Linked DNA regions of Homo sapiens: all the other regions are linked to region 1. Evidence: promoter capture Hi-C in 16 types of primary human blood cells and fetal thymus (Javierre and others, 2016). All regions are on one chromosome and are shown on one strand. Each heading gives the region's core, a stretch centred on a gene start or on the middle of the fragment in contact. The rest is flanking DNA. Distances are from core to core; before and after follow the strand shown. Region 1 holds the start of HMX3 (H6 family homeobox 3). Region 2 holds the start of EMX2 (empty spiracles homeobox 2). Region 3 overlaps EBF3 (EBF transcription factor 3). Region 4 has its middle 8.9 kb from the start of EBF3.

Region 1 (2,905 bases), core at 364-2,863:
GGATGGGCACCCGCACGATGCGCTGCGCCGCGGCATGGCTCAGGTTGGCCGCCTCCAGCTCCGCCGCCAGCTGCCGCTTCCACTTGTTGCGGCGGTTCTGGAACCAGATCTTGACCTGCGTCTCGGTGAGGTGCAGGGACGCGGCCAGGCCGGCTCGCTCCGAGCTGCTCAGATAGCGCTTCATGTCGAAGGTGGACTCGAGCTGGAAGACCTGGCTGCGCGAGAAGACTGTGCGCGTCTTCTTCTTGCGGCACGCCGGCTTCTTCTCTGGACTTTCAGCGCCCTTCTTCCAGTCTTCTGCGCCCGGAGTGGCCGCCGCCGCCCCTACGCTCGCCCCGGCCGCGCCTGGCGCCGCTTCGCCTTCCTTTTTGCTTTCCTCGGAGTCGCTCTCCTCCAGAATGATCTCGTCCGGGCTCTTGGAGTCCAGCTCCTTGTGATCGGGGTCGGCCTTGAGCAGTGGCTCCGGAGAGTCGCGGTCTGTGCCGGAGGCGGGGGAGGAGTCTCTCAGCAAGGCCTTCTCCGAGGCTGGGGAGACAGACAGACGGACGCACACACATGCACACCGACACAGCCTTGAGCGAGGCCCGGCGCCTGGGGACGGCAGGCTCAACCCGCGCCGGCCTCCAGGTCCCAGGCCATGAGGCCTCACCATTCCCGCGGGCTGCCTCCTTCTCGGCTGGGCCAGAGAAGGGACGCCGAGTCCTGGGATCCCCCTCCTCCCGAGGACAGGCAAGCAGATGGTGGTAGCGCGGCCACCTCCTTCCATTCCCTCAGCTTCCTCGCCAGGGGCCGGCAGAACGGTTCCCTTTCGGCTTAGGCGCATTGGAATCACCCCCTCCTTCCAGGCCGTGTCCCAAGCCCCGGCCGTCCGAAGCCTCCCTATTCACGCCCGAGGCCACTTTTCCCGGGAAGCACCGTGCCCGGGGCTCCAATTCCACTTCTTTTCTCACCAAGTGGGATTGGATTAACGGGCAGCGCAACCCAGCGCGAGGGCAGGCTAGGGGCCGAAAAAAACTGACCGAGCAGAGGGTTTGCGGGTGCTGGGGTCCCAGAACTGCGGAGGGAAGCAGCGCGGGGCGGGGACGGGGCGGGCGCGCAGGGGGACAACGAAAGTTCAAAGAGAGGTCGGTACCTTCAGGTCGCGGGAGGTGGCCGCCGGCGGGGGTCAGGGTGTAGGGGTACCACCAGGCTGGGGAGCGCTCCAGGTAGTGCGCGGGCAGGGCAAACCTCTGCGCCGGGATCTCAAAGCGAGGGAAAGCCAGGTCGCCCACCTGCGAGAGCGCGAAGCCCGCGGCGCCCTCCAGGGCCCCCTTGGCCGCCGCGGCAGCGGCAGCGGCGGCGGCGGCGGCAGCCGAGGCTGGCGCGAAGAGCGTCCGTGGGGGCGGCTGAGGCTTAGGGGGCGGCCGGTGGTGGTCTCCGTTGAGCAGGTTCTTGATGGAGAACGGGGACTCCTTGGGAGCGGGTGGGGGGGGCGGCGGCGGTTGGGGCTGTGCGCTGGCGGTGCCGGCAGCGTCCGGCCCGGGTTCCGGCATGGTCCCCTCTCCTCCGGGTCCCCGGGAGGGAGGGAGCGGGACAGGCGGGCGGCGGGGCGAGCAGGCGAGAGGCCGGAAATCAGACCATAAACGGAACTCAACTACGGGGCGCAAAGTCGGGGGCCGCCCCGGGCGCAAATCCAACGGCGGGAGGGCGGAGTGAGGACCCAGACGGGCGGGCTCGCATGAGGGAGGGGTGCGGAGGGGCGGGGAGCGGCCCTGCCGCGGCACCGAGGGATCGAGGCGGCTCGGCTGCGGCTGCGGCTCCCGCGGAGGAGGCAGCAAGAGCAGTCCCCGGCTCGAGGCTGCGTCAATCCGGCGCCGGATGCTAATGATGAAATCAAAATGTCATCCAAGTTAAATGCGGGGAGTATACGGCGATTGGGCGCGTACAATGGCAAATGGGATTAGGCAGGCGAAGGCTCAGCCGAGCCCCGGCCCCGCAGCCGCCTCCGCCACCGCCCCCTCCTCGCCTTCCCTCGGATTTTGGCGCTTTGGCTTCGGGCTATAAGAGCCCGCCCGTTATTGGCTTTATATAGTCCAATTAGGCAGCAAATGAGGACAAGCCTATTAGCACAAAAGGATATTGGCTCCCGCTAAAGAGGCACTCGGAGCGCTCCTGCGAGCGCAGGAGGCGAGCGAGGGACGCGGAGCAGGCGGCGCCCTTGGCCGAAGCGCACTAACGGCCGCGAGCCCGGAGACCGCGCCTGCCTCTCCCCCCTGCGGCGCAGGGACCCGCTTCCCGCCGCCAGGCCTGCGGGAGGGGGGAGGGGCGGACCAGGCCCTCCCGGGTCACCTCGGGGTTATCTGCGCTCGCAGCTGCCGCTCCCCCGCCCCCTGGGGCTGGACAGGGGCCCGCCGCCCCCACGCAGCTGGAGAGCCACGCAGCGCCGGCCCAAGAGGCAGGACGTGACCTCGGCCCTCGGAGAACTCATCATTTTCCTACCCTTTGGGGTCCGGCGACCTCGGTATTTTTCCTAAAGCCTGCTAGGAAGGGCGAGGCCAAGAAGAGAGGGATTTGGGTTCCCCACCCACCATCCAGCCGATAGTAAGGGAATCCAGGTGTAAGTCCTCGCACTGCGTCTTCGGACTCAGAAATCCGCGTGGCCTTGGCCTTTAGCCCTGGAAAACCGAAGAGTGAGCCTTCCCCCGGGACCAGGAGTGGGTGTGCCTGTGTGCGTATGCGCGCTGACCCGGCCAAAACCCGCGCGTCACTCGGTGGGGCTGCTGGGGCAACAGCTTCTCGGCACCGACGGCTGCTCTCGGAAGGGCACCCCTCTGCTCTGGCCGCCGGTGCCCAAGGCTCGCGGATCAACTCCGAGTCTGTGACCCCGACGACAGCACTTTCTCCCAGGAAGTCTCTCCGGCCAGCT
Region 2 (2,844 bases), core at 137-2,636, 5.6 Mb after region 1:
AAGGGGCGCAAAGTGGGTGGTGAACAGGGTCGAACGCAGTCGAAAGCAAGCCTGGCGGCCGAGTCCTGTCCGCGCCCCTCGGAGCCAGGACGGTTGGGGGCATTGCCGAGGGTACCAGGAGCCTGGGGATCCCGCGGGCTCTGGGCTCCGCGGCGCCGGGCACGCACAGCCCAGCCTGCTCTGATTCGAGCGCACTGGGGGACAACTTCTCCGTTCGCACCCCTTCCCAAAGGGTCAAGCGGCCCGCAGGCCATCACTCCAAACCAGTCGTAGCTTCGGAGACTGGGGATCGACACCACGCCCGGCCCCGCGCCGCCTAGTTTCCCAACAGGGCGCGCTGGCCCGCGAGCCGGAGGAACCTCCGCCCAGGCCTTGCCAAGCGCCCACCCGGAGCAGGCCGGGGGCAGTGAAGGATGCGGCGGGAGCGGCGCGCTGCAGTTCCGCGACGTGGCACGTACCTTGGAAGCGATGACCCAGATATCGGTAGCGGTGGATGAGCCAGGGGTAGAAGGTGGACGGATCCCGCTGCTGCGAGGCGAATAGGGGGTGTGGCGAGTGCGAGGAGGGTAGGGGGTGGGCGGCCAGGGCGTGCGGCGGCGGCACCGGGTGCACTGGCACGGCGGGGTTGGGCGGGTGCGAGACCGCCTCGGCGAACACCAAGTCCGGGTTGGAGTAGACGCCCCTACCGGCGGCGGCGGCGGCGGCCGAGTGGAAGCCGTTGAGGAACGGATTTATGGGGCTGGAGTTAGCGTAGCTGAGTGCCGCGGGACGGATGGGGTCCTCGGAGCGCGAGGCGGGCAGGGGACTGTCCTTGGCCACCAGCGACTCGATGGTGAAGCAGCGCTTGGGCGCCGGCTGGAACATGCTGCGCCGAGGAGCGGGCGCCCTGGGCTCCCAGCTCCTGGCGACCGCCGCACGCTGCCTCCGCCGCCCGCTGCCCGCGGCGAGGACGGACGAGAATTGGGGACTCGTTTGTTTGGGGTGGGGGTGGGGGTGGGGGGAAGGAAAGGAAGAAAGAAAGGAAAGGAAAGGAAAAAGGAAAGGAGGGGGGAGGGAGAGGGAGAGGCAAAGCCGAGGATCCCGAGAATCTTGCACCAAACGCGCCCAACCTGAAGAGAGGGGGGAAAATCCTTCCAGAAGAATTTGCAGGCGTGGATTGGGGTAATTTTTTTTCTTTTTTTTTCTTTTTTTTTCTTTTTTTTTTTTTTTTTTTTTTTTGGCGAGATGGCGTGGGGGGATCGGAGTTAGAGGCAGGGAGGAGAAGGGGGGAAAGTTCTCGGGGGAGGCAAAAAAAAAAAAAAGTTTTTTCTCCTCTGCAAAAGGCGGGCAGGGCGCCCTAAGTCCAAGGACAATCCATGGAAGTGTTCGCTTCTTCACAAGTTGTGCAAACGATTTGTTAGTTCATGAGCCTAATTAGTGCGGGGATCACATAAACAGCTTCCTCCGAAGCCTGGTAAATGGCTTGATGATTGGTCGCTATTACTCGCCCTGAGGTGGAAGGGGGGAGACTCTTTAAAGTGCGTCAGAGGGAGGTGAGCGCCTGGGAACCCGGAGGCCTGGATCCGGGCCGAGAGTGGAACGGAGTCGGCGCCGCCGCCTCGGCTGAGCCTTCTGCCGCCCACCGGGCGGCCGGGCTTCTCCGCGCCTTCGCCCCTCGCTCCCAGCTCACTCGCTCCTGCGGCGCCCGCTGCGGCTTCTCCTCCTCCTTCGCCTCCTCCTCTTCCTCCAGTTTCTTCTTCTCCTCCTCCTCCTCTTCTTCCTCCTCCTCCTCTTCTTCCTCCTCCTCTTTCCCCACCTACTCCCCCTCAGCCACCGCCTCCTCCTCCACCAGCACCACTCCCTCCGGGGCACCCCGGTCCCTGCAGAGTCCCTGGCCGGCGCCGCCTCCGCTGCGGCCCCCTGAATCCCGAGCCTGCCTCGCCCAAGCTGGTAGGACAGAAGGACAGACAGATTCCTCTAGCCTAGCGCTCCGCCGCTGCTGCCTTACGCGGCCCCGCGTCGGGAGAACTGGGATCGCCCCAAGAGCACCGCGAGGGTAAGCGGGCAGGGGCTGGTTCCCGGGCTAAAGGCGCCGTTCGGTTATACCAATCCCCACACTTAGCAAAACTCCCAGCGGTTTCCTAGGCCAGGAGGGATCCTGGAGTGAGGGGTACGGGGTCCTCCCACCCCATCAACCACGCTTAGCCTCGAGGTCCCAGGGTCGGTGCGTTCGCGATTCTTGACCCGGCTCGTTCGTTTGCGAGTTGAGACCGGGAGCTGCCGACCCCGCCGGAGCAGTGGGCTTCCAACTCTCTCCCTCTCTCGCCCCACGGTCTCTAGCGTTTTCTGTCTGGGAGGGTGCTCACCTCCTTCCCCAAAACAATTCCTTCTGGAATATCTGGGACCGGCAGTCCAAGGTCAGGGGAGAGCCCGATATGGTGCTACTGTACTATTAAGGTTCCGTCGTAATTATTTTTGTCAGTGTGGTCAATGTTATTATTATTATAGATGATATTATTTTATTATTATTATTTCTATTATTATTATTATGCCATCTGTTGTCCCGGGGTTGGTGGGGGGGTGGTGGTTGCTGTGCAAACCCAGTGCAACTAACGACTACGGATCGCATCTCCGGTCCCGGGCCGTGTCCGCATTTTCGAGCTCGCCTTCGGTTTTGGGATGATTTTAGGACCGAGTTCCCTCGTCCCCATTGGCTCGCGCGGCGGCATAATTATGATCACATCCCCAGGCTGCTGGCGCTGCTCTCTGTTTATTGGTGGTTAAAGATCTATTATCTATTCATCAGCCGCCTCTTTTTTCCTTTTTTTCCTTTTGCCAATTACATTCTTCTAAAGTGAAGTACCA
Region 3 (3,125 bases), core at 470-2,969, 6.8 Mb before region 1:
GAGCTGCATTATGGAGGCACAATGGCATGCTTTCATTTAAAGAGGGAGGCGCCAGGAACAGTGCCCACTTTGTAGGTTTGCCCTGCCCATAAGCTTGAGATGCGGGTGTGCACCACGCCGGCTGCACGGTTAGCCTCCGCTGTGTGTCACAGCTTGCGTGGTCGCCTGCCGCGGTGGGTCAGGGCCACCACCAGGCCCAGGCCTGCATCTCTGGCCTAGGCCTAGGAGGCCTGCGAGATTTATGGCTGCCTGAGCTGGGTAAAGACTCCACCGCCAGGCCAGTCAAGGGCTGGGTTTGAAAACAAGCTACACACCCACAATGACTTCCGCATCACTCTCCACCAACTCGGATTCCCGTCTGCCTGTGCAAGGGTGAAAACCTCGTGGTGTTGCCTTCCCCAGGCCCTGCAGCAGCATGCAGCCGGGTATGAACGTGCAGGGGTGGAGGCAAGGGCTGGAAGCAGGGCTGTCAGAAGCTATACTCTGGGAGGCATGTTGACGGAAAGCATCCTGCACCGCTGCGGCAGCCTTATCAGGTGAGGAGCGAAGATATTGCAGTGCCTGTAATTGTGTTAGGATGGCATGGGTGAATTGGATTACTTTATGGAAAGCCGTCCAAACTCGAGGTTCTGTTACGCATGCTTACAGGAAGCAAATAATTACTCTGTGCACCAGAAGATAATTGGGGCTGGCCAGAGGCCTTCTCGTGATGCCGAAGAAAGCAGGAGAAGCTGGCCTCGTCAAAGCCTTTAGGAGACAGACCAGGAGGACGGTGATCTTTGCTAGGCATAGGTGGCTCACTGTGATGCTGTAATTGTTGGTTACTTTTTAAAGATGGTGAATAATTTATCAGAATTCAAACAGTGGCAAAGGGAGACACGTTGAAGAAGATAAAAATTCCAAGCTCTAATGATGGAAATTGTCATTGCAGACAGGAAGTGATTGACAAGTGGGGGTACAGGAAGTGAAAACTCAAGGAGCTTAACCTGCAGTTGGCAAAGCTTCTGCAGCCTACACTTGGAGAAAATGAAAACCATTCCCTCCGTCAGCTTGCCAGAACACAAGCTCCTCTTGTTTGTTTATCTTAATAGCAAATCTCCCAAAAATGTTTGTGGTCCAAACTCTATATAATGAGACATTATGCTGGCATTATTCATGCTTTAATAAAAATATGGCTATCATTTAGAAAAATTAGTGCAGTAATTTCATGGGTTAAGGGGTTTTTTTTTGTTGTTGTTCTTGTTGAATTTTATAAGCTTCTTAGACTTTGGGGTAACCAGCGTTCATTAAATTGTAGAAGCTTGAGAAAACTGTTTTCAAAACGATGTTTTCAGAAAAAGGTCAGACATATCTGTCAAAAGAGTAAATGCTATAAATTTGCCAACAATTCGATAGAGAGCACTGCAGGGAGGGGTATAGGGAAACTCTTATTTTAGTTGTTTTTGAATCACTCATTTCCCCTTCCCCTTAAAAACAACACAAATGAAAACGATCCCTCTCCAATTCCTTCGCTGGAAGTTGCTCAGCTAGAAAATACTCAAAATTCATGCAGGGCTGTGGTGCCCGAGTGGATGGGGCGCATCCTCTGCAAACGGTGGTGGGGGCAGCAGCCGCGCCTTCCCAGTAATTCACTAGGAAATGAGTTTAACATGTGCGGAAAGGAAGGGGCTCGCGGTTGTGTTGTTGTAGGACATGGAGCCCAGGCCCCGCGAACGGAAGGAGTCGGCTCCAGCGTGTCTCTGCTGGAAGACGGAGCTGCCTGCACATCTGGAGAGGAGGCCGTGCATTTGCCCAGACAGGCAGCTCCAGCCGCCGCCCCTGCCTCCGCCCCCCTCCCCTCCCTCCTCCCTCCTCCCTCCTCCCTCCACCCTCCACCCTCCTGCCTATATTTTCCTCTGTCCCTCTCAGCAGAAAGCAGTTGGGGGCAGGGTGCCATGTTAAAGCACAGAAGGAGACAAAACTTTGGCAGTGTTTAAGGCCCTAAAAGCATTTGCCCTTGTGATGATGAATTTACAAAGGGAGAAAGACCAACCCTGACCATTGAGGCCTGCCAGCTGAGTCCAGGTTTCCACAATGGTTTGGTAAGGAACTGCACCCCCTCCCGCTTTCTCTAAGTTTTCATTGAATCAGAAAGCTTGCACAGAGATGGCCAATCTGGATGTTAGGGAGCTGCTGAAGAACAGGTCTGGAGGCCTGTGCCTGGGCTGGGGCCATCCGAGGGTGACATATGTGCAGTACAAGCCCGGGATTTGATTATGGGCATGGGCAGGCAGCGTGCGCCTTCCCCAGGCGTGCATGTGGGGATCCCTAGCAGGGTCACCCCAACTCTGGGCAGTGATGGGGCCTGCATCAAAGGTCACGTTCCCCCACGAGTCCCATCACTTGGAACAGGGTCATTTAGGCCCCATGGGGGAGTGTCCCTTTTATTTGAGGTAACACCCAGGAAAGCCGGCTTAGTCTTCTTGGCACTGGAGCCTGGGATGCTGCTCACTGGTTTAGGGAGGGGCTCCTCCCTGAGTGCCCCCTAAGTTTTCTTTTTCTCTTTTCTTTTCTTTTCTGTGTGTGTTTTTGAGACGGAGTTTTGCTCTTGTTGCCCCAAGCTGGAGTACAATGGCACGATCTCGGCTCACCGCAACCTCCGCTTCCCGGGTTCAAGTGATTCTCCTGCCTCAGCCTACCGAGTAGCTGGGATTACAGGCATGTGCCACCATGCCCAGCTAATTTTGTATTTTTTTTAGTAGAGACAGGGTTTCTCCATGTTGGTCAGGCTGGTCTTGAACTCCCGACCTCAGGTGATCCTCGGGCCTTGGCCTCCCAAAGTGCTGGGATTACAGGCATGAGCCACTGCACGAGTGCCTCTTAAGTTTTGTAAGAACTTCAGCACCAGGGGATATGGCTGGCAGGGGCCTAAATGCTCTTCTGACAGATTAATGCAGGTGTCCTTTCCAAGTTTTCATTGTCAAGAACCACACGTCCGGCTCTGCAGAATGACATCCCATAGTCAGGAGGAAGGACTGGGAGATGCAAACAGCCTGGGGGGCAGGGCATGAAGCAGGGACATTGAAGCCACACCAGCAACAGGCACCCCTAACCTGGCCTTGTCTTCCTCTGCATCTGATGCAGAT
Region 4 (3,096 bases), core at 558-3,057, 6.8 Mb before region 1:
ACTGTTTTCTTGCCTCGTCCACAGCATTTTACCTCAACTGGTCAAACAGACTGAGCAAAGGCCACTTGTGAGTCTTTGTGTGTGGCACTGAATGGTGGCCCTCCCCAAACCCTTCCCTTTGCCTCTGAAGCCACAAGTGACAGAACCACATGACCAGAGCTCTGAAGTCCCACAATGGGGTTGGAGTCCCAGCTTCCTAGCAGTGTGACAAGAACATGCCCCTTAACTTTTCTGAGCTTGGGCCTGACACATAACATTCAATACATGTTAGTTGCTATTAAAAACATGGGTAATTTTATATCTTAAAATATTGCATATTGCTTAAATGGTTTCATGCTGGCTCACATTAAAAATGATTCCCAAGTGAAGATGACAAAGGGGAAATATTCGTTATTTAGTTCTTTTCTTACATTAAGTGATCATAATAAAGTACATTTCTGGGTTGCATTCTCTAGAGTGCCTTTTGCTAAATAAATGGCCAAAAATAACTTTCCCTTCCAGTAAGATTTCATGATTCGGCACACTCAACGTTCACTATAAAAGCTTAAAGTGAAGAGCACGAAACAAGCCTGGGAGCAAGAAACAGGCGAGAAAAAGCGATGGATACAGGAGGGTGAGGCCCACATTCCCACAAAAGTGCTTTCTGTTTCAGACAAATCTCGGCAATAAGAAAGTTGTCTTTATTCAGGTATCTACATCACACTTAGGTTTGGAAGAAGCAGATGGATAGGAATTAGTAGGATCTTCCAGGAGTCCCAGGTTCTCCCGGAAGAGGCAAATTAGAAAAAGCGCAGCAGCCCTGGGTAGGGGCCCAGGGCCCGGAGCCAGGGTCTGGGCTAATCAGCCCCTCCCAAGCCCAGGGCGGCCATCAGGTTGGGGATGCAGGTCACACCCCCGCCTGACCCCTTTTCTTTTCCAGAGCAGCAGCTCCAGATACTTATGAGAAAAGTTACACCTCTGGTCATTTGCTGGGTGACATCAAAAATGGGAGTGGAGTGGTCAGGCTTGCCTGGCCTCTGAAGGGCGGCCGAAGCCCTCCTTCACTGAGATTGCTCTAAACGCAAAGCTCATCTAGGAGCCATCCAGGCGTTTTTTTGTTTTTGTTTTTGTTTTTTCTTCCATAGCGTGGCTTTATTGGAGAACCCCGGGCTTTCTCTGTTTTCGTGGGCGATCTCTTGCCTCTTCCCATTTCATTTTAGCCGTCACGGGGCCCAGTAGAGTACTTTGCATTAAGTTATCCGTATCCAGGAAGATGTCCTCTCATCCACTTTACCAAAAAGGACCGGGAGAACCCCAGCCATCTCCTGCCCACGGGAGTGTGCGCTCATCCACACAGACGGCTTCAAGCCGCCCAGGGCCTGGGACCCGTTTCCAGATGCCCTGCGAAGTGGTGTCCACAGCAGCGGTGCCCCACTCCAGGCCTGGCGCACTCTTTTGGCCAAGGAGGCGCACGAATACCCTCGGGCCCCCGACGAAAGAGAGGGGCTCAGGTCCTTGCAAGGGGGCCTCCCCGCGGAGGAGCCCCGCGCGTGGCCCAGGAGGCCTCTCCTCCAGGTGGCTAGCGCTGGGCGCAGCTGCGGCCCCGGGGCACGGTGGCAGGCGGGCCGCTGGGCCGCCTACGGGCACCTCCACGCGCCCCCGCTCGGCCCTAGCCCGCCGCCCGCGGTGGAAGGCAGTGTGGCGCGTGCGCACTGGCGTGCTCGCGGCCGGGCCCGTGGGCTCTCCCGGGAGGGCGGGAGGTGGGAACGTGGGAAGGCGCGGGGCCGCCCACCTCCCGGCCCGCAGCCGGCGCCGCCGACACCTCGCGGCCGGGGCGCCCGCGATGTCCGTCGAGTGAGCGGCACAGGTAAGCGCGCTCTCGATCCCGTCGGGGGCTCCCCGCCCCAGCCCGCGGCCCCCAGGCGGCCGCGGCGCCAGCAAAGTTGAACTTCGCGCGTGGCGGGCCGGACACTGAACGCTGGGGGCCGGGTTGCCGGGGCCCCGGAGCCGGGTGCGCTCCTCTCGCCTACGGGAGCGCGGGCGGGGCTGCGGCGGAGGCGCGGGGTGGGACTGTGGAGGCAGGAGCCCCTGACCATGAGCTGCGCCCAGGCCTGGCCTCGCAGTGAACTTTTGCGCCGCGCCCTGGCAGCGTCTTGGTTCCTGGCGAGCACTGCCTGGGAGGCCTCCGTTGGCCTCTGCTCGCGGCCTTCCCGGCGGGCCTGCGGGGAGGCGATCGCGTGCCAGGGATTCTCGGCGCGGGGGAGGCGCGTACCGGCACGGGCGAAGATCCGGGGTTCCGAGGATTTAGCTGAAGGACCCCGCGTTTTTCACTCTCCGTCTTCCCCCAGTACAAACGCCAGACCCTTGGAGAGAGGGATGGGGAAGGTCGAAGCGCCTAGATGCCTGGACGACAACGCAGGAAGCAATTAAAACTCCTCCTTTCGGATTAACAACCAAAAATTGATCCATGTGTCAGGAATACCATTGATTTATGAAAGGTGCTTATTTCTCTGGTATGGAGAATTTTATGTTCTCCAGGTGAAACCGAGTTCACCCAGCTCCAGCGTAGATTGATGTTTTAATAAAAATAAATAAAGGGGAAAAGCTCGCCTGGTCTTTGGGGACATCAAGTCTCAAATCGCAGAGTTAGACTAACAAATCAAATTGCATTATCTTTACATTTCATATCTTTTAATCTTGTACCTAAAAATCGCAGGCAGGAGAGCGCCTTCATTTCGAAAGTTTTAATATAGTGCTTAAAAGTCCGCATAACTAGCAATCAGTGTTTCATAAGCAAAATGGCACGGGAGCGTCGGGTAATTGTGATAAGTGGCAGGCGGCGCGGGGCGAGGGCGGCGGCGGCGGGAGGAGGAGCGGGCTCTGGACGCTGAGAGGGAGGAGGCGGCGGCCGCCCGGAGCCGCGCGGCGCCCGTAGATGGCGCCCTGGCCCCACGCTAGGCCCGGGATCCGCGGCTCCGTCGGGCGGCGCGCGGGCGGGAGAGCCGGCGGGGGCGCGGCGCTCGGGGCTCCACGCTTGCGGTAGACTTGGACCGGGGCGGCGCGGCTAAGGAGGAAAAAAAAATTAAGCTTATTGTTGCCATTTTTAATTTAAGGCCT

What was found. The method cuts DNA at HindIII sites, captures the fragments that hold promoters and counts their contacts. A CHiCAGO score of 5 or more calls a contact.
Region 2: a contact is called between the fragment with the promoter of EMX2 here and the fragment with the promoter of HMX3 in region 1, in 1 of 17 cell types (total B cells). The highest score is 5.9, in total B cells.
Region 3: a fragment that was not itself captured here is called in contact with the fragment with the promoter of HMX3 in region 1 in 1 of 17 cell types (total B cells); the score reaches 7.8 in total B cells.
Region 4: a contact is called between a fragment that was not itself captured here and the fragment with the promoter of HMX3 in region 1, in 2 of 17 cell types (total B cells and naive B cells). The highest score is 30.2, in total B cells.

Annotation. Positions count from the first base shown.
Region 1 is chr10:123,134,678-123,137,582 of GRCh38, reverse strand. It overlaps HMX3 (H6 family homeobox 3), which reads right to left and starts at 1,613. Exons shown (of 2, transcript NM_001105574.2): 1 at 1,133-1,613; 2 at 1-525. The coding sequence starts at 1,532. RefSeq lists enhancers at 1-265, 1,448-2,398 and silencers at 1,185-1,234, 1,245-1,654, 1,705-1,784, 2,165-2,294, 2,325-2,444. The HindIII fragment of the contact is 8,924 bases long and covers 1-2,905 here.
Region 2 is chr10:117,541,288-117,544,131 of GRCh38, reverse strand. It overlaps EMX2 (empty spiracles homeobox 2), which reads right to left and starts at 1,386. Exons shown (of 3, transcript NM_004098.4): 1 at 459-1,386. The coding sequence starts at 864. It also overlaps EMX2OS. RefSeq lists an enhancer at 1-171. The HindIII fragment of the contact is 6,949 bases long and covers 1-2,844 here.
Region 3 is chr10:129,948,748-129,951,872 of GRCh38, reverse strand. All of the region lies in intron 6 of EBF3 (EBF transcription factor 3), which reads left to right. Among named protein-coding and RNA genes, the nearest start is that of EBF3, 14 kb to the left of the region's middle. RefSeq lists an enhancer at 1,947-2,781. The HindIII fragment of the contact is 834 bases long and covers 1,303-2,136 here.
Region 4 is chr10:129,971,648-129,974,743 of GRCh38, reverse strand. No RefSeq gene overlaps it. Among named protein-coding and RNA genes, the nearest start is that of EBF3, 8.9 kb to the right of the region's middle. RefSeq lists enhancers at 962-1,845, 1,846-2,731. The HindIII fragment of the contact is 2,523 bases long and covers 546-3,068 here.